2 separate regions of the Homo sapiens genome follow, and region 2 is linked to region 1. The links are contacts of gene promoters, found by promoter capture Hi-C in human tissues and cell types (Jung and others, 2019). All regions are on one chromosome and are shown on one strand. Each heading gives the region's core, a stretch centred on a gene start or on the middle of the fragment in contact. The rest is flanking DNA. Distances are from core to core; before and after follow the strand shown.

Region 1 (4,115 bases), core at 185-2,684:
TCTGATCCTGGGGAGGTCCTCAGATTCGTAGACAGGAGAGGGAACAACTGGACACCTGTTGCCTGACCTTGGTAGCCACAAGGGGCGCTCGGGAGGTGGAACCCGCAGAAGCCCCGCCTCCCGGAAGCGGAGCAGTCAAGGGGCGAAAGGATGCGCCGACTGATTGGTTGATGGTGATGTCATAGGGACCGTTCGGGGCGGGCCAGAGGCCTTGGCCAGGAGTTCCTCGCCTGTTAGAACCAGGATCCACCCCATCGCGGGAGCCGCACCCTGTGGAGCGTTCTGGGGTCCCGGCCCTGACCTCTTCCTGGGCTTCGGGATGCCCGCGTCCTCTGCACCCGGCGCTGCAGCTCGTTATCGATTCCGCCTTTGGAGGCCGGTCCGTATAGTGTACCTCCCGGACTCTCTCACGGTTAGCCGGCAACCCGCGGAGCCCCCTCCCCCATGCGATGAGTCCGCCGTGAGGGGCGGGGCCTCCCATTGTGCCAATAGAAACAATGACTGACCGATTGGAGTGCTCCGCGTTCACCCCTCGCCTCCGCTCCTCTCGTGACGTCTGTTGCGCCAGGTCCACCCATTGGCCTGGCGAGACCGGCGCGTGCCAGGAGTTACGCAGGGAGAGCTGGAATGCACCGAGGGTGGGGGGAGGACTGAGTTTCTGTGTCAGTCCCTTCAAGGGGTTAAGGCATGCGGTCGTGACGGACGAGGGGCGGGGACCCGAAGAAGCGGGGCCCGCAGCCATGGGGCAACGCCGGGCTCCACGTGGCATCCCAGAGCACTCGGGACTCGCAGCCTGGGAGGGGGTGCAGCCTCCAGTGAAGGGGCCCCGAGCCCGGGAGACTGCTGGGGACCAGCAAGGCAGGGAAGAATTTGGCCTCTGCTCCCGCCTCGGGAGGGTCATCTCTGGTCCCTGCTCCGCAGGGGCGATCCAAACAAGCAGGTGGTCGCGACATGTTTCATAAAACTAGCTGATGGGATAGTTAAAGCTATTGTTCGGGGTGCTGGCACCCCAGACCCCTCTCCAGCCATCGTCCCCTCTACCCCAGGATTTCACACAGTACCCCCTCCCAGAGCTATGAGAACGCTCATGGGCACCAAAATTTCAGACCAAAATCCGGGACACGGTTCAGAACTAGTGGTCAGGAAGGGGGAACAAGAGATCTGGAAGGACAGAAAAAGGCTGGGAGACGGAGCTGGGACAGCGCCCTAGAAGGAGGGAGGTGGGTGAAGGCGGCGACCGAAAGTGGGGAGGGCGGACCCAACGACGGCGAACCTTCGCGCTCTGTTCAGCACCAGGAGCAACGCTCACGTCCTCAATAAAGATGGCGGCAACATCTTCGGTCCTCAGAGCTGCCATGCGCGATGGGTTGTACCACCGTGTTTCGGGCGCCGGGGCAGAGGTGGAGCGAACCATCGGGGCGGCCGGGAGCCATGTTGGAGCGGCGGGAGGCGGCAGCAGCGTCGGGGATGCTGTGGTGGGGGCGGAAAAAGCCAGGGCCGCACGCCGGAGGGGCTCCGGCCGCGGAGTAGATGGTGCCCAGAGGGCGGCGGGGGTGCGGAGAGACAGGCGGAGGGGCGGGGGCCCGGGGCGGCGGCAGGGGCCCGGGAGGGGGCCCGAGCGGCGGGGCCAGCCCAAGGCCCGGACCGGGGCGGGGGGCGGTGGAGGCCGTGCAGGGAGGCGGGGGATGATGGCGAGGCGGCCGCCGTGGCGGGGCCTCGGGGGACGGTCGACCCCCATACTCCTGCTCCTTCTCCTCTCTTTGTTCCCCCTCAGCCAGGAGGAGCTGGGGGGCGGTGGGCACCAGGGCTGGGACCCAGGCTTAGCTGCCACTACGGGGCCAAGGGCGCATATCGGTGGCGGAGCCTTAGCTCTTTGTCCGGAGTCTTCCGGGGTCCGGGAGGATGGGGGGCCTGGCCTGGGGGTCAGGGAGCCTATCTTCGTGGGGCTCCGAGGGAGAAGGCAAAGCGCCCGGAATAGTCGAGGGCCCCCTGAGCAGCCGAATGAGGAGCTGGGGATTGAACACGGCGTCCAGCCATTGGGCAGCCGCGAACGAGAGACAGGACAGGGACCAGGGTCTGTGTTATACTGGCGCCCAGAGGTCTCCTCTTGCGGGCGGACAGGACCTTTGCAAAGAGGTAGTCTGTCACCAGGGGCTCTGTCCTCAGGGGTCCCGGGCTCGGGGAACAGCTCGCCCCTCCCTTCAGACTTTTTGATTCGGCACCACGGTCCCAAGCCGGTGTCCTCCCAGCGGAACGCTGGGACAGGCTCCCGCAAAAGAGTGGGCACCGCGCGCTGCTGTGGGGAATTATGGGCAACAGGGAGCAAGGGTCAGGGCGAGAGAGCCACGACATCCGGAGCAGAAAGGACAGCCCCCCGGCGGAACTGTCTTCCAGGGGCCTCGGGATCTGGCCCCGAGCTGGATTCAGCACCACGCACGGCGAGGACAGCTCCTGCATCAGGTTCAGCACCCCGCGAGTCTCGGACAGCTCCCGAGCCGGCGCCCAAGCGCATGCGCTCCCGGGGTCTCTTCCGCTGCCGCTTCCTCCCGCAGCGCCCCGGGCCGCGTCCCCCGGGACTCCCGGCCCGTCCTGAAGCCAGGAAAGTAACCTCGGCGAACCGGGCACGCTTTCGTCGCGCCGCAAACCGCCACCCGCAGTTTCCGCAGTACAACTACCAGACGCTGGTGCCGGAGAATGAGGCAGCAGGCACCGCGGTGCTACGCGTGGTTGCTCAGGACCCGGACGCCGGCGAGGCCGGGCGCCTAGTCTACTCGCTGGCGGCACTCATGAACAGCCGCTCGCTGGAGCTGTTCAGCATCGACCCGCAGAGCGGCCTTATCCGTACGGCGGCAGCTCTGGACCGCGAGAGCATGGAGCGTCACTACCTGCGTGTGACCGCGCAGGACCACGGGTCGCCGCGCCTCTCGGCCACCACGATGGTGGCCGTGACAGTAGCCGACCGCAACGACCACTCGCCGGTTTTTGAGCAAGCGCAGTACCGGGAGACCCTTCGCGAGAATGTGGAGGAGGGCTACCCTATCCTGCAGCTGCGTGCCACTGACGGCGACGCGCCCCCCAACGCCAACCTGCGCTACCGCTTCGTGGGGCCGCCAGCTGCGCGCGCTGCAGCTGCCGCCGCCTTCGAGATTGATCCACGCTCCGGCCTCATCAGCACCAGCGGCCGAGTGGACCGCGAGCACATGGAAAGCTATGAGCTGGTGGTGGAAGCCAGCGACCAGGGCCAGGAACCCGGGCCGCGCTCGGCCACTGTGCGCGTACACATAACTGTGCTAGACGAGAACGACAATGCTCCTCAGTTCAGCGAGAAGCGCTACGTGGCGCAGGTGCGCGAGGATGTGCGCCCCCACACAGTCGTGCTGCGCGTCACGGCCACTGACCGGGACAAGGACGCCAACGGATTGGTGCACTACAACATCATCAGTGGCAATAGCCGTGGACACTTTGCCATCGACAGCCTCACTGGCGAGATCCAGGTGGTGGCACCTCTGGACTTCGAGGCAGAGAGAGAGTATGCCTTGCGCATCAGGGCGCAGGATGCTGGCCGGCCACCGCTGTCCAACAACACGGGCCTGGCCAGCATCCAGGTGGTGGACATCAATGACCACATTCCTATTTTTGTCAGCACGCCCTTCCAAGTTTCTGTCTTGGAAAATGCTCCCTTGGGTCACTCAGTCATCCACATTCAGGCAGTCGATGCAGACCATGGGGAGAATGCCAGATTGGAGTACTCCCTAACTGGTGTGGCACCTGATACTCCTTTTGTGATAAACAGCGCCACTGGCTGGGTCTCTGTGAGTGGTCCCCTGGACCGTGAGTCTGTGGAGCATTACTTCTTTGGTGTGGAGGCTCGAGACCATGGCTCACCCCCACTCTCTGCCTCAGCCAGTGTCACCGTGACTGTGCTGGACGTTAATGACAATCGGCCTGAGTTCACAATGAAGGAGTACCACCTACGACTGAATGAGGATGCAGCTGTGGGCACCAGTGTGGTCAGCGTGACCGCAGTAGACCGTGATGCCAACAGTGCCATCAGCTACCAGATCACAGGCGGCAACACCCGGAATCGCTTTGCCATCAGCACCCAGGGGGGTGTG
Region 2 (4,459 bases), core at 1,274-3,773, 160 kb before region 1:
TTAGGGATTGCTTTTTCTAATTTAATTTCATAATTGTTTAAAATATTTGTGATTCCAAAGCCAAATCTATAAAACAAGGTATATTCAGAGAAGACTGGCTTCTACCCTTGTAGCCTCCACTCAATTCTTCCCTTCCCCTATAGCAGTGGTTTTCAGCCTTGGGAGCTTTTAAACAATATTGATAATGGCCCCACATCAAGTCAAGGCCATGATTGCACCACCACACTCCAGCCTGGGCAACAGAACGAGATCTTGTCTCAAAGAAAAAAAAAAAAAAAAACAACATCCTGGGGCATCATGAACACATTTGACTTGGGATCTGCATATTATTGCATGATTCAGATGCACTAACTAGCCTGATTTGTTATTTTCATTTGATTACTAGTCTGTGACATGTGTCTTGTGTTTTAATTACAGAATATGTGAAATTGTGTTCTTAGGAAAATGAAAATGGCTTAATTTTGCTAATTTGCTTTTTCTTTTATTAGAGTATAATTTTTTTCTTTTGGCATCAGTTACCGAGGCCATTTTTTCCTTCTCTTTGCTCTAATCTAAGCATATAGATTCAATTTAGTAGATATTGTGAGTGCTAGCTGGTGTTCTATCAATTTGAAATGGTTCTGTGGCCATGGAAGTTTGGGAGATGCTTCTACAGGCCAGGGACACATTAAACAGCTTTATAAAGGGAAGGAACATCACCATATTTATACCCCATGCAAGCTGTGTGAAGAACTGGTCTGAGGCAGTGCCAGGCTGGATGCTGGGAAACTCCATTTTTTTTTTTTTTTTTTTTTGAGACAGAATCTTGCCCCGTCACCCAGGCTGGAGTGCAATGGTGCAATCTTGGCTCACTGCAACCTCTGCCTCCCTGGTTCAAGGGATTCTCCTGCCCCAGCCTCCTGAGTAGCTGGGATTACGGGCATGCGCCACCATGTCCAGCTATATTAGAGATGGGGTTTCGCCATGTTGGCCAGGCTGGTCTCGAACTGACATCAAGTGATCTGCCCGCCTTGGCCTCCCAAAGTGCTGGGATTACAGGCGTGAGACACTGCGCCTGGCCCTGTTTTCATTCTTTTTTTTTTTTTTTTCTGACATGGAGTGTTGCTCTGTCGCCCAGGCTGGAGTGCAGTAGTGCAATCTCGGCTCACTGCAACCTTCACCTCCCAGGTTCAAGCGATTCTGCTGCCTCAGTCCCCTAGTAGCTGGGACTACAGGTGCACACCACCATGCCCGGCTAGTTTTTGTATTTTTAGTAGAGACAGGGTTTCACCATGTTGGCCAGGCTGGTCTCAAACTCCTGACCTCGCGATCCGCCCGCCTCGGCCTCCCAAAGTGCTGGGATTACAGGCGTGAGCCACTGTGCCTGGTCCTGTTTCCATTCAAAAGGGAGTTCTTGACTGTCTTTCAAGGGTGTGGTAAAACTTAAAGATAATGTATGCTAAATATCTAGTGTCTGGTGTGATAACTGTAATTGGTTGTTTAATCATTTCTATTGATCCTAGAACTCATATCTCTCAAGAACTCATATCTCTAAAAACCAGGGAACTTGCATATTTAAAAATTCTTGGGAAATTGGATTATCAGTAAGAGTTTTGATTGGAAAATACAGAATTGTAACAGGAAAAATAGCAATAGCTGGAAGGGAGTGGGGATGGGTAGGAGGAGGTATTTCCCTAGTTCTGGGAGCATGAAGCAAAGCTGGTCTTTACAGCAGAGAATGATCCTTTTAGGTCTGGATAGCTGGTGTTCCTAGAGTTGAAGTTTCTGCCCCTGGGTAAGTAGTGCTCTGTGTCATCTCTGACTTGACCCACAATCCCCACCACTCCTTGCTCTGATCTTGCCACAGTCAGATCCTATACTTAGGGAGACGTTCTTTCTCTTTCTGTGAGGCATGGCTTACGCTGGACTAATCATTCCACCCTTGTCCTACTGTTACAGTCTGTGTTTAGGAGTAAATGGGGGAGTAATTAAAACTGTGTGATTGGAGATGGTCATGGCATTGCCCCTGACATAGGGAGCCTGGAGTAACAGGAACTGTGAAGTTTATTGGTTCTATTCTGGACCTATTGAATTTCAGGTCCAACTCAGGGAGTTGGAGTTCCAGCTGGCATTTAGCCAACATTGGGAATGTGGGTCTGGAGAGCACAATGGTCATGAGTCAAGCTCACTTTTTCACATTTCTTTTCCTTTGCATATGCCTTCCCTTCTGCCTGGAATGCTGTCCTCCCCTTCTTGTTTCTCTGCTGAACTGCTACTTGTCTTTTATCAACCAGTTCAAGGGTTTCCTTTTCTGCACAGCAGCAACCCTATGAGGTAGGTGCTATTATTATCCTGGTTTTATAGATGAGGAAAGTGAGGCACAGAGGTTAAGTAACTTATTCAAGGTCACACTGCTAGTAAGTGAGGTGACTGGATTTGAACCCAAGCAGCCTGGCTCAGAATCTATGCTTATAACTACTTCATTCTTACTGGTTTCTAGGTACTTGGTAAGTACTTATCATATGAATCGAGTGTTCACAGTAGTCATCTATGTGCAAGAGAATTAAGGAGTCAGGTTCTCTGTTTTAGGACAGTATTTCCAGTGAGACAAAAGGCAATCCCCAAATGTTTCCTAATGTGTTCCCTTTTCTCCATTCCCGTTACCATTCAAGCTTTCTTCATTTTTTTGTCAGGAATATTACAGTAGGCCCATTACTGGTCTTCCCACTCCGTGTCTTATTCCATTGGTGATACTATTATTAGAATAATCTTTCCAAAATGCATGTATGACCCTCTTATTCCCTTGCGGTAGATCTACTCCATTGGCTCCACAGTGCCTAAAGCAGTTCCTGATCCAAACTAAAGAGCGAGCTATTCTGTATCCCCAGTTTAGAATATTCCAGAGAAGGAATGGCTTGGGTTGGGTCATATTCCGTTTTTGGAATAAGTTACCATGAATGTTCTATGCTTGTTCCAAGCAAGTTACCATGCTTAAGAACACTGATTTGCCTGGCTTGGATCATGCACCCTATCCTATGACCAAATTGGAAGTAGTAGGCAGAGTTGGGAGTGAAGTCCCACAAGGACTTCACATCTGTGAGAGGCCACTCCTAAAGGATAACTCTGGTTACCTAACTAGGAGAAGGTAGGGGTTTGGAGTAGTGTCACAGGAGGTGGGTTGACACAGTGGTATGGCTGAACACTGTTGTGGCCTTCAGCCTCCCCACTGCCTTCCTGTGTTATTTCAGCAGATGTCCACTCTGGTCAGCACTGGGACAGGGGAGGATAAAAGTGCACTTGACTATAGGAGCTTATCATCTGTCTGGTAGGGGCAGCAGTAAGCAAACAGGCAACATGATCCTTCCACAGGAAAAAGCTGGGGGGATTCTAATAAACATTATATTGCTAAGGATCCATAATTAAATAATGGAATGGTGGAATTTATTTCAAAAAATGTAAAACAAGTATTTTATTGATTCACACTTTTACTTTTCCTCAGTTGTCAAATTTAGATGACTCAGATTCTGGCTTGACCACTTCCTAGCTGTGTGACCTTGGGTACAATTCTCTGAGTCTCAGTCTCCTCAGCTACAAAATGGGATGGTAATAGGGTTGTTGTGAAGGGTATATGTGATGATGCATTTAAAATGGTTGGCATAATACTTGCACGTAGTGGGACTCAAAAATTGTAACTAACAAAAAATGTTTGAGGGTGGGCGTTGTGGCTCATGCCTGTAATCCCAGCACTTTGGGAGGTCAAGGCTGGCGGATCACCTGAAGTCAGGAGTTCGAAACCAGCCTGGCCAACATGGTGAAATCCTGTCTCTACTAAAAATACAAAAATTAGCCAGGTGTGGTGGTTGGCGCCTGTAATCCCAGCTATTTGGGAGGCTAAGGCAGGAGAATCGCTTGAGCCCAGGAGGCGGAGGTTGCAGTGGGAGGTTGCAGTGAGCAGAGATTGCACCACTGCACTCCAGCCTGGGCAACAAGAGCGAAACTCTGTCTCAAAAAAAAAAAAGTGTTTGAACAGGGTATACGTGGCAGAATAGCAGCTGTGAAAAAAAATGTGAAACTGCAGTATTTTAAAGATAGATAATTTTGAAAAACCAGCAAACAAACCCTCCACAAAACTATGATATCCCTAACATTTTACTGTCTCAGTACTTCTATACATAGGGTCATTAAGTCTGCCCTCGGGTCATTTGTGGTAAGTAGTACTACCCTTATTGAATTTGTGAGAATACTGAGGCTCAGAGAAGTTTAAGTTCTCTTTTCTTTTTTTTGAGACAGGGTCTTGCTGTGTCACCCAGGTTGGAGTGCAGTGGTGTAATCACAGCTCAAGCTCCCTGGCTCAAGCCATCCTCCCACCTCAGCCTCCCAAGCAGCTGGCACTGTAGGTGCACACCACTGTGCCTGGCTAATTAAAACATTTTTTTTTTGTAGAGACAGGGTCTCACTCTGTTGCCCAAACTTGTCTCGA

Evidence for each region. The method cuts DNA at HindIII sites, captures the fragments that hold promoters and counts their contacts. A contact is called where the count stands out against the background at its distance.
Region 2: a fragment that was not itself captured here is called in contact with the fragment with the promoter of CELSR3 in region 1 in 1 of the 25 tissues and cell types used here (spleen).

The regions. Positions count from the first base shown.
Region 1 is chr3:48,660,205-48,664,319 of GRCh38, reverse strand. It overlaps CELSR3 (cadherin EGF LAG seven-pass G-type receptor 3), which reads left to right and starts at 1,434. Exons shown (of 35, transcript NM_001407.3): 1 at 1,434-4,115. The coding sequence starts at 1,686. LINC02585 (long intergenic non-protein coding RNA 2585) reads right to left here and starts at 552. Exons shown (of 3, transcript NR_111921.1): 1 at 507-552. RefSeq lists enhancers at 1-48, 109-468, 783-1,368, 1,239-1,428, 2,540-3,124 and 1 more. The HindIII fragment of the contact is 20,539 bases long and covers 1-4,115 here.
Region 2 is chr3:48,818,546-48,823,004 of GRCh38, reverse strand. The region is part of intron 1 of PRKAR2A (protein kinase cAMP-dependent type II regulatory subunit alpha); the gene reads left to right. Among named protein-coding and RNA genes, the nearest start is that of PRKAR2A, 27 kb to the left of the region's middle. The HindIII fragment of the contact is 9,279 bases long and covers 1-4,459 here.